Linked DNA regions of Homo sapiens: all the other regions are linked to region 1. The links are contacts of gene promoters, found by promoter capture Hi-C in blood cells and fetal thymus (Javierre and others, 2016). All regions are on one chromosome and are shown on one strand. The core of a region is centred on a gene start or on the middle of the fragment in contact, and the rest is flanking DNA. Distances in the headings are between cores, read along the strand shown.

Region 1 (2,846 bases), core at 237-2,736:
AAATCTCAGTCATACCATTCGTGCGGGTGCTAACACAATTCTAGTGCTTCACATGCCCGACCTCATTTAACCCAAACCAGAACAACCTTATGAGCAAAGGGTCACTGACCCCATCTTACAGATGAGGAAACTGAGACTAAGAGGGCACAAGGTGACACACAAGAGTTGGTGGCAGAGATAGACGTGACCATACAACAGCACAGTTCCTGTTTTCAAGGACACTCTCTATCCAGCGAGAGTGAGAAAAGTGAGTGAACAGAACAACTACAATCCAGGTCCCTCATCTGCAACCCTCAAATCTAAAAAGGTATGAATACTAGTGGATGATCGGATGCAGGGGAAAAAAAAAAAAAAGTCTGAATACCAAAACTTGTTTAAGTTGGAAAACTTGACCTGACTTAAGGTGAGGCTATTTATGGTTATTTATCCCAACAGTGTAAATATATGCATTTTTTTTTTTGAGACGGAGTTTCGCTCTTGTTGCCCAAGCTGGAGTGAAGTGGCACGATCTTGATTCACTGCAACCTCCGCCTCCCGGGTTCAAGCGATTCTCCTGCCTCAGCCTTCCGTCTCAGCCTCCCGAGTAGCTGGGATTACAGGCACGCACCACCACGCCCGGCTAATTTTTTGTATTTTTAGTAGAGACAGGGTTTCACCATATTAGCCAGGCTGGTTTCGAACTCCGAACCTCAGGTGATCCGCCCCCCTCAGCTTCCCAAAGTGCTGGAATTATAGCCGTGGGCCACCGCGACCAGGTCAATGTAATATATGCGTATCTTCATAACTTTAGCTGTGGAAAGGGTCGTGTATTTGATTACAAGCCGCTGCTCCAGCCCCCTCTGAGGGTGAAACCTAACATAGAACATAGGGACTTTACCTTTCCAAACTCCGAGAACTCCTCGATTTTAAACGCATCTGGCCTCGGGGCTGTAACATAAGCGGCTGCGGACTTGTACAAAGTAAGAAACTCCGTACACAAAACAGAGGGGAGCACGGAGGGCGGCGGGACAAAGAGGGTGGTCGGCAAAGGCTGTATTTTCCATAGATGTAATCACAGTTTGAATCGAATTTTATATTTTGCTTTTTCACCTGTTACAATGAAAAGTATCTTTACCTGTTAAATCGTAATTACGATTAAAAATATTTTTCACTAAATAGTAAGATTTTTAGATGTCTGCGTGTGTGTTGCGGGAGGACATCCCAGTCCGCTGTTTTCTGCGGCCCCTGTCTGGGCCTCAGTTTCCCCATCAAGAAGGGGGAAACCCCAAGACCCCAGTCCCCGAGTTCCACAGCCCACGGGGACCGACCCCGGGGCCGGACCCCACTGCCTGTCTCGCCCACCCCACCTTCCGTCCTCCCCTCGCCTTCCTTGAAGTCCCTCTTCTTTCCCCTCCAACCCCTAGCTCCCCACGTTACCCACCAGGGAGCCCAAGCGCATCCCAGGCCGCGCTAGCGGATACGGTCGCAAGGTGGACTCTTCTTCCTTTGAGGCGGGGCGAACGCGAACGCGGCGTTCCCATTGGTGGCCTGCGGCTTATTCGCCCGTCCGTTGAGTGACGCACTTCCGGTTCTCCGTTTGCGCCATTGCCCTGGTGGTTCCGCCTCGTGGGTTAGATCCCAAATTACGCCCGCTCTCGATCCTTAATAATGGGAAGGGGCTTCCACTTGTCGCCCTCCGCCTCCTGCACCTCAGTGACTTCCCTGACCAAGGAGGAAGAATTGGCGTGCAGCCTGGGCTTCCCTCAATGGCCACCATTCCGCTGGCACAATGTAGTGCCCTGCCCCGGGCCTCAGTTTCCCCATCTGTGGAACTGAGTGTGGCCTCGACGTCAAAAATGTGGACTCTGGTCCGGTCGCGGTGGCTCACGCCTGTAAGTAATCCCAGCACTTTGGGAGACCAAGGCGGGCCGATCACTTGAGGTCAGGAGTTCGAGACCAGCTTGGCCAACATGGTGAAACCCCCGTCCCTACTAAAAATACAAAAAGTAGCCGGGCGTGGTGGTGTGTGCCTGTAATCCCAGCTACCCGGGAGGCTGAGGCAGGAGAATCACTTGAACCCGAGAGGCAGAGGTTGCAGTGAGCCAGATCGTACCACAGCACTCGAGCCTGGGTGACAGAGCTCAAAAAAAAAGAAAAGAAAAATGTGGACTCTGTGGTCATAGAGCCTGATCTAGAATCCTGGCTCTGCCACTTACTAGTTGGCAGGCGCTTGGGCAAGTCACTGAGCCTCAGTTTCCTCTTCCATTAAATGAGGATATTAGTTCTTGCAAAATAGTGTTGGTGAGATTTACAAGAGATAATAACACCTATATCAGGTGCTTAGCATGGCCATTGAAAAGTGTCACATGGGAGTGCTGATTATATGTTAACTGTTATCTTACCTAGGGATTGTGAGAAAGCAAGTGAAATTACTCGTGGAAGTGAATGGACTGCTTTGAGTCTTCAAGGCGTTAATTTTCCAAACGTTTGAATTCTATCCCTGGTCTGAGAGCTAGGGATGCAGCCTAGCAAGGGAAACAGGTAACTAATATAGAACAGCAGTACCTGCAAATATCTGTCTCTGTGAGGATAGATCAAATCCAGGCTTGGTCACTCACCACCCCTGTGATCTTGGACAACCTCTTAACCTCTCTGGGCTTCAGTTTCATCTGCTAAGTGGGAAAGCAGTGGTGTGTGGTGATTAAAAGCTTCAGCTTTGGAGCTGGATGGTCAACATGGAATCCTGGGCCTTAAACTCAGTGTCTCTGAGACATAGGACAAAGTACAGTCAGCTGTCCATGTTTACAGGTTCCCCATCTACGGATTGAAGCAACTGTGGGTGGTTAATATTTGTGGGGGAAAACAGT
Region 2 (2,846 bases), core at 136-2,635, 210 kb after region 1:
TCTTCCTCTGTCCCTTCAGACTACTCAAAATGAAGACAACAAGGATGAAGACCTTTAAGATGATCTACTTCCACTTAGTGAATAGTAAATAGATTTTCTCTTCCTTTTTTTTTTTTGAGACAGAGTTTTGCTCATGTCGCCCAGGCTTGAGTGCAATGGTGTGATCTCAGCTCACTGCAACCTCCGTTTCCCAGGATCAAGCGATTCTCCTGCCTCAGCCTCCCCAGCAGCTGGGATTACAGGCACCTGCCACGCCCAGCTAATTTTTGTATTTTTAAGTAGAGACGGGGTTTCACCATGTTGGCCAGGCTGGCCTTGAACTCTTGACCTCAGGTGATCCGCCGGCAGCGCCCTCCCAAAGTGCTGGGATTACAGGCGTGAGGCACTGTGCCTGGCCCCTTATTTTTGTTAACAGTTTCTTTTCTCTACCTTATTTTATTGTAAGAGCACAGTATATAACATATGTAAGATACAAAATATAAATTAATCAACTCTTTGTTATTGATAAGGTTTCTGGTCAACAGTAGGCTATCAGTGGTTAGGTTTTGAGGAGTCAAAAGTTACATGTGGGGCCAGGCATAGTGGCTTACACCTGTATATTAATCAACTGTTATTGATAAGGTTTCTGATCAACAGTAGGCTATCAGTGGTTAGGTTTAGGGAGTCAAAAGTTATACTTGGGTCAGGAGTGGTGGCTTACGCCTGTAATCCCAGCACTTTGAGAGACCAAGGTGGGCAGATCACTTGAGGCCAGGAGTTCCAGACCAGCCTGGCCAACACGGCAAAACCCCGTCTCTACTAAAAAATACAAAAATTAGCTGGGTGTGGTGGCAGGTGCCTGTAATCTCAGCTATTCGGGAGGCTGAAGAATGAGAATCACCTGAACCAAGGAGGCAGAGGCTGCAGTGAGCTGAGATCAATCCACTGCACTTCAGCCTGGGCGAAAGAGCAAGACTCCATCTCAAAAGAAAAAAAAAAGGAAAGAAAAAAAAAAGTTCTATGTGGATTTTTGACTGTGCAGGGGGTCGGCGTCCCCTTACCCACAAATTGTTCAAAGGTCAACTGTACTTACCTCTGAGGTTCTTGCACAAAAGCAGCATAGACAACATACAGAATGGGCATGGCTGTATGCCAGTAAAATTTTGTTCACACAAACAGGTAGTGGGCTGGATTTGGCCCTAGATTACCCCAGTGCAATAGGTTGTCAGCCATCAAGTTATTAAGCAGCTGAGGAAAAGCTACTCTATATATCAGTACTTACCTGTTAAGTTCATCCTCTTTCCTGGTTTGATCTTTTTCATCCCCAATTGCCAAAACTCGGTACCTGCAAAAGAAACATAACAGCATGTCAGTGAAACAAAACAGCTCCTCACTAAGCAAGCGGATGCTGGCTCAAGATGGCCATTTATTGGCTAAAGTGTTGGGAGTGGGAGAAATGTTAAACTCACCAAATGTCGAGTGCTGTGCATGTAAATTAAAATGAGAATATACCCTGTCCTGCCTGTTATAAAAAGGAGGGCTGAGAAAATGTGCAATGTTCACTCACCGACAATTATGTGGCAACACGGAAAAATGTGAACTGGCAAAGATCCACTGTTAATTGTAAGAGGAACAGCACCTAAAACTGTGGGTGTGTTACAATCCAAAAAAAAAAAAAAAGCACAAGAAGAAAATGTCCCACCCAGAAGTAATCTAAAAAAATTATTCTCATAGAAGAAGGAAAAAGGTGGTTCCCAGAGGCTGGGAAGTGGAAGGGAAGGAATGAAGAAAGGAAAGATGTTGAGCAAAGGGTATAAAGTTACAGTTAGACCAGAGGAAAAAGTTTTCATGATTTAAAACTGCATGGTGACCACAGTTAATAACACATTACATATTTTGAAATTACTAAAATAATAGATTTTTAAGGTTTGTATTGCCAACAAAAGAAGTTGGTGAGGCGACAGATATGTTGGTTAACTTGACTTCATCCTTCCTCAATGAACACATATATTAAAACATCACACTGTACCCCATAAATATATAAAATTATTATTCATCAATTAAAACAAAGAAATATGAAAATCCCCAAAGAGTAGCCATATTAGGTGTTGGAATTACAAACCATTTCCCCATTTTTTTTTTGAGTTTCATGTAATATTATTTTACTGTATGTATACCAAGCAAGTAAATTTAAGAATAAGTCATAGAACTGCCTTTTTATAAAATATGACAAATTGGCCATTTGTAGGACATTTCTTCGGTTTCTAACAAACTAACAGAAAAATTAATCTTGACTGCAATAGTAAATTCCTCTTATAATTTAGTGCCAAGAAAAAGAAACTTTTCAGAAAACGTGAAAACCACCTCTGCTTCCTGGGTTCAAGTGATTCTCCTGCTTCAGCCTCCCAAGTAGCTGGGATTACAGGCACGTGCCACCACGCCCAGCTAATTTTTGTATTTTTAGAAGAGACAGGGTTTCACCATGTTGGCCAGGCTGGTCTCGAATTGCTGACCTCAGGTGATCCACCCGCCTCGGCCTCCCAAACTGCTGGGATGATGGGTGTTAAGCCCCCACACCTGGCTTGGAACCATTTTCTATTCTGCCTTGCCTGCCAGAATGCTCAGGATCACAATCAGTATTAAACTGTTACACTTGCAACTTTTTCTTCTCTCTAAATGGTTCATGGGCTCTCCTTTAAAAATCTCTGTCTTCTTTTATGATTAAAAATTGTGGCCGGGTGCGGTGGCTCATGCCTGTAATCCCAGCACTTTGGGAGGCTGAGACGGGCAGATCACGAGGTCAGGAGATCCAGACCATCCTGGCTAACACGGTGAAACCCCGTCTCTACTAAAAATACAAAAAAATT
Region 3 (2,846 bases), core at 164-2,663, 180 kb after region 1:
AGCCCAGGAATTTGAGGCTGCAGTGAGCTGTGATTACACCGTTGCACTCCAGCCTGGGTCACAGATCAAGACCCTGTCTCTTAAAAATAAAAGTTGGAGACAAGAGCTGGCTCACCTGAAAGGAGGGATTAGTAGGTAGGAGGGTGGATGGAGGATGGATGGATGTGTGGGTGGATAGGAAGATGGTATTAAGTTGGTGCAAAAGTCTTTGATATTACTCTTAATGGCTTTAATAAAAAGCTTGAAGGAAGAATGATTGGTTGGATAGACAGAGATAAATGCATACTGGAAACAAAGATAAAGATAAAACACAAGTTATACCAGGCCAGCAACTCTATTTTGTTCACTGCCTTTAGTCCCAGCCTGGCACATAGTAGGCACTCAATAAAGCCTGATTTGTAGCATTTGCTTATTTCCATGGTGTAATTTCATGCTCCTGATTTGAGTCTAAACACAGAGTTGGGAAGAGATATGCACAATCTGCCCTCCTGGCTGGTATGAGTGAGTCCCAGCTCACCGATGGTAGCCCAGAGAGAACATCAAGAGGAGTAGGGGGCTTCAGGGAGGAGGTGGTGTTGGTTGGACTTCGAAAAATGAATAGGAGGCTGGGAGTGGTGGCTCATGACTGTAATCCTAGCACTTTGGGAGGCCGAGGCGGGCAGATCATTAGAGGTCAGGAGTTTGAGACCAGCCTGGGCAACGTGGTGAAACCCAGTCTCTACTAAAAATACAAAAATTAGCTGGGTGCGGTGGCGGGTGCCTGTAACCCCAGCTACTCAGGAGGCTGAGGCAGGAGAATCTGAGAGATGGAGGTTGCAGCGAGCAGAGATCACACCACTGCACTCCAGCCTGGGTGACAGAGCGAGACTACGTCTCATAAAAAAAAAAAAAAAGGAAAAATGAATAGGCGTTGTTACATGTACCAGCTATTTGGGGCAGAGGGAAGAGCTTGGACAAAGGCCTGGAGGTACGACCAAGGGTCAGGAGCAAGTGGGACAGGCGCTCCTCGCCCTCCAAAGACCAGGCCAGAATTGCTGACAAGACTCACTGAAGAGGAAGGGGGACCGATAGCAACGTCACTTTCCCAGCTGCCGCATTCCTCACCTTGCCGTCTGCAAGCTCTGAGGGGCAGAGTCATCCGTCTGACAGATGAAATGAAGGCACAGCTCAGGCTGGTGACCTGCCTGAGGTCACACACTGAATGAGTGGTCGGAGCTGGAACCAGAACTCTGGGCTTCTGATGCCACTTTCAGCTCTTTTTCACCTTGCTCTGCTGGAACGTACCTAGATCAAGAGGTGAGGAAGGTTTAGCAGACGCCGTGGGTGCCTGCTGCATCTGCCTGTGCAGCAGTTTGGAGACGTGGCTGACCCCAGCTCTGGGAGTGGCTATGTGAACCAGGCCTGCCCAGTAGGACATTTCTTCCCCCTGGCAACAGTACAGTTTAGGGACAGACATACCCTAGCTGGTCCATGCTCTCTTTCTGCTGGGATTACTAAGCTGTAAGGAGGGTACTGGGAGGGGCAGCAAGAAACACACAAGAAAGCAGAGCTGAGAGATGGTAATAGCTCTTGAGATCCCGGATCCAGCCATGCCTGAAACCACGTTTCTCCTGGACCGTTTAGATACATGAGTATGGAAGTCATTATGCTGTTCACCATATGCTGGGCACATGGCAGGATTGTACATCCTGACCCTCTGTAGCCAGATGGGGCCATGTGACTGGCTGGGACTGGGCAGTTGTGAGCAGAAGTGATAAGTCTCACTTCTGGGCAGAGCATTTTTCAGATGGCTACCACACCCCCTGGGGTGTTTTTCCTCTGTCACAGAGACAGATGATGATGGTGACTGCTCCATCTGCCTGGGCACCTGGGTCCTTGAGCAAGGAGATACGGACTGAAGTTTCAGTTCACTTGTGATAGACGTGTATCGTGAGCAAGGAATCAATCCTTTGTTGTTCTAAGCTGCTGAGATGGGGCTGTTTGTTACCACAGCATAACCCTGCCTACCCTAGCTGAATCAATGAGCTGATAAATTTCCTTTTTTGCTTAAGCTGGTTTGAGGTGGGTTTCTGTCCCTTGCAGCAGAAAGTGTTCTAGCATTATTCTGATATTATCCCCACAGTAAGGACTCTCCTTCTATCCTAAGGAAGGACCTTGTATTAGTCCTTGTGTCACTATAAAGAAATACCAGGCTAGGCTGGGATCACGCCTATAATCCCAGCACTTTGGGAGGCCGAGGCAGGCGGATCCCTTGAGGCTAGGAGTTCAAGACCAGCCTGGCCAACATGGCAAAACCCTGTCTCTACTATAAATACAAAAATGAGTCTGGCATGGTGGCACATGCCTGTAATCCCAGCTACTCAGGAGGCTGAGACACGAGGATCACTTGAATCCGGGAGGCAGAGGTTGCAGTGAGCTGAGATGGCGCCACTGCACTCCACGCTGAGCGACAGAAAGATCCTGTCTCAAAAAATAAAAAAGAGAAATACCAGGGTCTAGGTAATTTACAAAGAGGCTTAATTGGCTCTCAGTTCTGCAGGTTGTGCAGGAAGCATGGCACCAGCATTTATTCTGGGTGAGGCCTCAGGAAGCTTCCAATCACAGCAGAAGGCTAAGGGGGAGCCTGCGTGTCACCTGGCAAGAGTAGGAGGAAGAGAGCAAAGTGGGAGGTCCCAGACTCTTTTAAACAACCAGATTGGCTGGGCACGGTGGCTGACGCCTGTAATCCCAGCACTTTGGGAGGCCGAGGTGGGTGGATCACCTGAGGTCAGGAGATCGAGACCAGCCTGAGCAATATGGTGAAACCCCATCTCTGCTAAAAAAAAAAAATACAAAAATCAGCTGGG
Region 4 (2,846 bases), core at 169-2,668, 170 kb after region 1:
TTTTAATTCTCTCACGGTTTCCTACTCCTTGAAGCACTTCCTGAATCTCCGAGAGTGGGTGTCCTGTGGATCCAACTTCTGTAGAGCCGAGTCCTCTTCCTTGTCAGGGTTTTGGGACATTTTCAGCATAGCTGTCCTTGACTCTATGAGGTCCTGACCCTCTTGGGGTGTGTGCGTGTGCTCTGGCTGGGTTCCTACCACATCTGGGGCATTTAGGATATTGCCATTCTGAGTGGGAGCTTGGCCAGGAGGGACACAGACCTGGTGGCCGGGCGCAGGGCTCTGGAGGAGGGTGCTGAGCTGGGGACCAGCTAGTTTTATATTATTTGCCATCACATGCATCCTGTCTTCATAGCCAGCCTTGAAACATTGGTGCTCAAACAAGGAATTTCCAGGTGGTGAGGCCCCCTGGGTGCCAGGCCTACATCTAAGCAGCTCCTGAGTCCTCATATTTGTCCCGGCCTGGGGACCCCTGCACCCATTCTTCCTCCAGCCCTCGAGGGGATGGAGAGGAAGCTCTGCAGTCCCAAGCCACCCCCCACCAAGGCCTCTCTCCCCACTGACCCTCCAGGCTGGGGCTGCCCCGACCTCGTCTGCTACACCGATTACCTCCAGACGGTCATCTGCATCCTGGAAATGTGGAACCTCCACCCCAGCACGCTCACCCTTACCTGGTAAGTAGCCGGGCCTCACCAGTCCCCGGGGATGCAATTCAGGGTGCCTGCTCAGTGATTCCCCCAGGAGGACACTGTGCACTGAGGACCACTGTGTCCGCCTTTCAGACAACCACTCAGGGCTCACAGGACTTGAAAAGTCAGGAGCCCGCAGGGTTGGTCTATCCACCAGCTTCAAAGGCCACTCTCTCACCCACACAGGTCGGCCATGGTTTTGAGACCCCGGGATGGCTGGTTTCCCGCATGATTTTTCAAGCACTTAGGTACCAGGCCCCCAACTACACGCTTCCCATGAATGGTCACCCCCAACCCTCACAATGATTACTCCCATTTTACAGATGAGGACATTGAGGTTCAGAGAGGTTAAGCAACTTGCCTAAGGTCACACAGCCAGTGAATGCTGGAGCTGGGATTCAAATTCAGACCGCCCAACTCCAAAGTCCATGGGTCCCTTTTAGACCCTATGCAGCTCAGGATAAAGAAGAGCTTCTGTTATCCATCAGCTCATTCATTCATTCAAAACCATTTATAGGCCAGGTGCAGTGGCTCATGTTTCTAACCCCAGCACTTTGGGAGGCCAAGGAAGGAGGATCACTTGAGCCCAGGAGTTTGAGACCAGCCTGGGCAACATCACAAAACCCTGTCTCTACAAAAAATAAATCAGTCGGGCGTGGTGGCACAATCCTGTAATCCCAGCTACTTGAGAGTCTAAGGCAGGGGGACCAAGCTCAGGAGGTCGAGGCTGCAGTGAGCTATGATCACGCCACTGCACTCCAGCCTGGGCAAAAAAGCAAGATCCCAACTCAAAAACAAAACAAAACAAAACAAAACATGTATTAAGTTCCTGCCAGACACTGTTGCAGGCACTGGGGATTCAGCAGAGCAAGACTGACCAGGCCCCAGATGCCTTGGAACTGACGTACCACGGTGGGGCGGAGGCTGGGGGAGACAGACACACAAAACAACCAACAAGGTGCTTTCTCTTTTTTATTTTATTTTATTTTATTTTATTTTATTTTTTTGAGACAGGGTCTTGCTCTGTTGCCCAGGCTGGAGTGCAGTGGTGGGATCAGAACTCACTGTAGCCTTGACCTCCTGGGCTCAAGCAATCCCTCCACCTAAGCCTCCTGAGTAGCTGGGACTACAGGCATGCATCACCATACCTGGATAATTTTTGTAGTTTTTGTAAAGACAGGGTTTTGCCATGTTACCCAGGCTGGATTCAAACTCCTGGGCTCAAGCAATCTGCCCACCTCAGCCTCCCAAAGTGCTGGGATTACAGGTGTGAGCCACCATGCCAGGCCCAAACAGGACACTTTCTTTCTTTCTTTTTTTTGGAGACGGAGTCTCACTCTGTTGCCCAGGCTGGAGTGCGGTGGCATGATCTCGGCTCACTGCAACCTCCACCTCCTGGGTTCAAGCAATTCTCCTGCCTCAACCTCCCAAGTATCTGGGATTGCATCCAGGTGTGCACCACCATGCCTGGCTAATTTTTGTATTTTAAGTAGAGACAGGGTTTTGTCATGTTAGCCCACCTGGTCTCGAACTCCTGGCCTCAAGTGATCCGCCCACTGTACCCGCCTTTCAGACAACCACTCAGGGCTCACAGGACTTGAAAAGTCAGGAGCCCGCAGGGTTGGTCTATCCACCAGCTTCAAAGACCACTCTCTCGCCCACACAGGTCGCCCATGGTTTTGAGACCCCGGGATGGCCGGTCTGCCGCATGGCCAGCCTCCCAAAGTGTTGGGATTACAGGCATAAGCCACCGTGTTCTGCCCCAAACAGGATACTTTCTAATAATACTGGGTGCTATATCAAGGACAGAACACTGGACCTCAGGTAAAGGGACCACAACTGCTAGTGAGAAGGAGGAAGCCAGGGAGCTGGGCAGAGGGCACTGCCAGTGCAAAGGCCCTGTGGGAGAAGAGCTGGTGCGTTTGAGGAATAGGGAGGAGGTCAGTGTGGCTGGAGTGGAGTGAGGCAGGGTGAGGGGGAATAAGGAGCAAGTTCAGGCTGGGAGGCTTGGAGAGCATTTATTCAGCAGGAACTTGTATTCCAGCAAATTTGGCAGAGAACTCAGTCCACACATCCCTACTGGGCCTAGAGAGTGGTCATGTTCAGATCCTGAACATCTAGGTAGGGAAATTAATATCCGGTAAACTACTATACATA
Region 5 (2,846 bases), core at 119-2,618, 150 kb after region 1:
TTCCAGTTTTTTGGTATTATGAATAATGTTGCTGTGAATATTTGTCTACAATGGTTTGTACATTTCTTTCTGGACATATATCCGCAATTGTTTTCTTTCCTTTTTCTTTCTTTTTTCTTTTCTTTTTTTTTTTTTTTTGAGACAGGGTCACACTCTGTCACCCAGGCTGGACTGCAATGGTGTGAAAACAGCTCACTGTAGCCTCAAACTCTTGGGCTCATGTGATCCTCCCACCTTAGCCTCCTGAGTAGCTGGGGCCACAGGTACATACCACCATGCCCAGAAAATGTTTTCATTTTAATTTTTGTAGAGATGAGGTCTTGCCATGTTACCCAGGCTAGTCTCAAACTCCTGGGCTCAAGCAACCCTCCCGCCTTGGCCTCCCAGTATGCTGGGATTACAGGCATGAGCTACTGCATCTGGTCAATTCTTTTCACTATATAACTAGGTGTGAAATTTCTTGGTCATATGGAAACAGTCATACATTGCTTAATGACGAGGATACATTCTGAGAAATGTGTCATTAGGTAATTTTGTCATTGTGTGAACGTCATAGAGTGCACTTACACAAACCTAGGTGGTATAGCCTACTACACACCTAGGCTGTATCTTACAGCCTATAATTGGCTACAAACCTGCACAGCATGATACGGTACTGAATACTGTAGGCAACTGTAACACAATTGTAAGTATTTGTGTATCTAAACATAGAAAAGGTACAGTGAAAACATAATATAAAATATGAAAAAACGGCACACCTGTGTAGGGCACTTACCATGAATGCAGTTTGCAGGATTCGAAGTTGCTCTGGGTGTCAGTGATTAAGTGCTGAGGGAATGTGAAGGCCCAGGACATTGCTGTACACTCCTGTAAACTTTATCAACACTGAACTCTTAGGCTACTCTAAATTTATTTGAATTTTTAAAATAATAAATTAACTTTGGCTTACTGTAACATTTTTCCTATTTTATTTATTTTATTTTATTTTATTTTATTTTATTTTATTTTATTTTATTTTATTTTATTTATGTTATTTTATTTTATTTAAGACGGAGGTTCGCTCTATCGCCCAGGCTGGAGTGCAGTGGCGTGATCTCGGCTCACTGCAAGCTCCGCCTCCCGGGTTCACGCCATTCTCCTGCCTCAGCCTCCCAAGTAGCTGGGACTACAGGCGCCTGCCACTGCGCCCGGCTAATTTTTTGTATTTTTAGTAGAGATGGGGTTTCACGTGCTAACCAGGATGGTCTCGATCTCCTGACCTTGTGATCTGCCCGTCTCGCCCTTCCAAAGCGCTGGGATTACAGGCGTAAGCTACCGCGCCCGGCCCTATTTTATTTCATTTTTTGAGACAGAGTCTCACTCTATCACCCAGGCTGGAGTGCAGTGTCGCGATCTCAGCTCACTGCAACCTCCGCCTCCCAGGTTCAGGCAATTCTCCTGTCTCAGCCTCCAGAGTAGCTGGGACTACAGGTGCGCGCCACCACGCTCGGCTAATTTTTTTGGTATTTTTAGTAGAGACGGGGTTTCACCATGTTAGCCAGGATAGTCTTGATCACCTGACCTCGTGATCTGCCCGCCTTGGCCTCCCAAAGTGCTGGGATTACAGGCATGAGCCGCTGCGCCCCGCCAACATTTTTTCTTTATAAACATTTTAACTTTTTAAAACTTTTTGAATAACACTTTTGTAATAACAGTTATCTTATTGTAATAACACTTAAGTGTTTTCGTGCACTCTTGTACTAACACTTAAGACACAAACACATTGTACAGCTATACAAAATATTTTTCTTTATATTCTTATTCTAAAAGCCTTTTTATATATTATATTTTAAAATTTTTTATTTTTTATTTTTTTACTTAAAAAAATTTTTTTTTGTTAAAACCTAAGACACGCGGGGCATGGTGGCTCATGCCCGTAATCCCGGCACTTTGGGAGGCCAAGGAGGGCGGATCGCCTGCAATCAGGAATTCGAGACCAGCCTGGCCAACATGGTGAAAGCCCCATCTCTACTAAAAATACAAAATTGGCCAAGCATGGTGGCGGGCGCCTGTAATCCCAGCTACTTGGGAGGCTGAGACAGGAGAATCACTTGAACCCGGGAAAACCAACACCACGCCATTGCACTCCAGCCTAGGCAACAAGAGCAAAACTCCATCTCAAAAAAACCCAGAAAACAAAAAACAAAAAATCTAAGACACAGGCAGACACATTAGCCTAGGCCTACACAGGGTCAAGATCACCAATATGACTGTCTTCCACCTCCACATTTTGTCCCACTGGAAGGTCTTCAGTGGCAAAAACACACATGGAGCTGGCATCTCCTATGATAATGATGCCTTCTTCCGGAATCCATCCTGAAGGACCTGCCTGAGGCTGTTTTACAAGTTAACATTTTTTGTTTGTTTTTAAGAGTCTTGCTCTGTCACCCAGGCTGGAGTGCAGTGGCACAATCTTGGCTCACTGCAGCCTCCACCTCCTGGGTTCATGCGATTCTTGTGCCTCAGTCTCACGAATAGCTGGAATTACAAGCACACACCACCGTGCCTGGCTAATTTTTGTATTTTTAGTAGAGATGGGGTTTCACCATGTTGGCCAGGCTGGTTTCCAACTCCTGACCTCAAGTGATCTGCCTGCCTCAGCCTCCCAAAGTGCTGGGATTACAGGCGTAAGCCACTGTGCCCCTCCAACATTTTTTTTTAAGTAAGTACAAGGAGCACACCCTAAAATAGTGATTTAAGATATAGTATAGTAAATACATACACCAGTAACATAGTTTATTATTATTATTATTATTATTATTATTATTATTATCAAGCATTATGTACAATACATAATTGTATATGCT

What was found. Contacts are between HindIII fragments. The CHiCAGO score rates a contact against its expected background, and 5 or more counts as called.
Region 2: a contact is called between a fragment that was not itself captured here and the fragment with the promoter of NSMCE1 in region 1, in 2 of 17 cell types (naive CD8 T cells and total CD4 T cells). The highest score is 5.8, in naive CD8 T cells.
Region 3: a contact is called between a fragment that was not itself captured here and the fragment with the promoter of NSMCE1 in region 1, in 11 of 17 cell types (activated CD4 T cells, non-activated CD4 T cells, naive CD8 T cells and 8 more). The highest score is 15.8, in activated CD4 T cells.
Region 4: a contact is called between a fragment that was not itself captured here and the fragment with the promoter of NSMCE1 in region 1, in 10 of 17 cell types (total B cells, activated CD4 T cells, non-activated CD4 T cells and 7 more). The highest score is 9.6, in total B cells.
Region 5: a contact is called between a fragment that was not itself captured here and the fragment with the promoter of NSMCE1 in region 1, in 9 of 17 cell types (activated CD4 T cells, fetal thymus, monocytes and 6 more). The highest score is 9.6, in activated CD4 T cells.

Annotation. Positions count from the first base shown.
Region 1 is chr16:27,267,286-27,270,131 of GRCh38, forward strand. NSMCE1 (NSE1 component of SMC5/6 complex) reads right to left here and starts at 1,487. Exons shown (of 8, transcript NM_145080.4): 1 at 1,421-1,487. It overlaps NSMCE1-DT (NSMCE1 divergent transcript), which reads left to right and starts at 920. Exons shown (of 5, transcript NR_037184.1): 1 at 920-959. RefSeq lists a silencer at 1,381-1,460. The HindIII fragment of the contact is 3,617 bases long and covers 1-2,685 here.
Region 2 is chr16:27,477,208-27,480,053 of GRCh38, forward strand. It overlaps GTF3C1 (general transcription factor IIIC subunit 1), which reads right to left. Exons shown (of 37, transcript NM_001520.4): 28 at 1,262-1,324. Among named protein-coding and RNA genes, the nearest start is that of IL21R-AS1, 25 kb to the left of the region's middle. The HindIII fragment of the contact is 5,121 bases long and covers 1-2,846 here.
Region 3 is chr16:27,451,639-27,454,484 of GRCh38, forward strand. It overlaps IL21R (interleukin 21 receptor), which reads left to right. Exons shown (of 9, transcript NM_181078.3): 9 at 1-404. It overlaps IL21R-AS1 (IL21R antisense RNA 1), which reads right to left and starts at 1,755. Exons shown (of 3, transcript NR_037158.1): 1 at 1,459-1,755; 2 at 1,105-1,284. RefSeq lists an enhancer at 1,163-1,262. The HindIII fragment of the contact is 2,351 bases long and covers 239-2,589 here.
Region 4 is chr16:27,433,776-27,436,621 of GRCh38, forward strand. It overlaps IL21R (interleukin 21 receptor), which reads left to right. Exons shown (of 9, transcript NM_181078.3): 3 at 572-674. Among named protein-coding and RNA genes, the nearest start is that of IL21R-AS1, 18 kb to the right of the region's middle. The HindIII fragment of the contact is 7,943 bases long and covers 1-2,846 here.
Region 5 is chr16:27,417,042-27,419,887 of GRCh38, forward strand. All of the region lies in intron 1 of IL21R (interleukin 21 receptor), which reads left to right. Among named protein-coding and RNA genes, the nearest start is that of IL21R, 16 kb to the left of the region's middle. The HindIII fragment of the contact is 5,619 bases long and covers 1-2,846 here.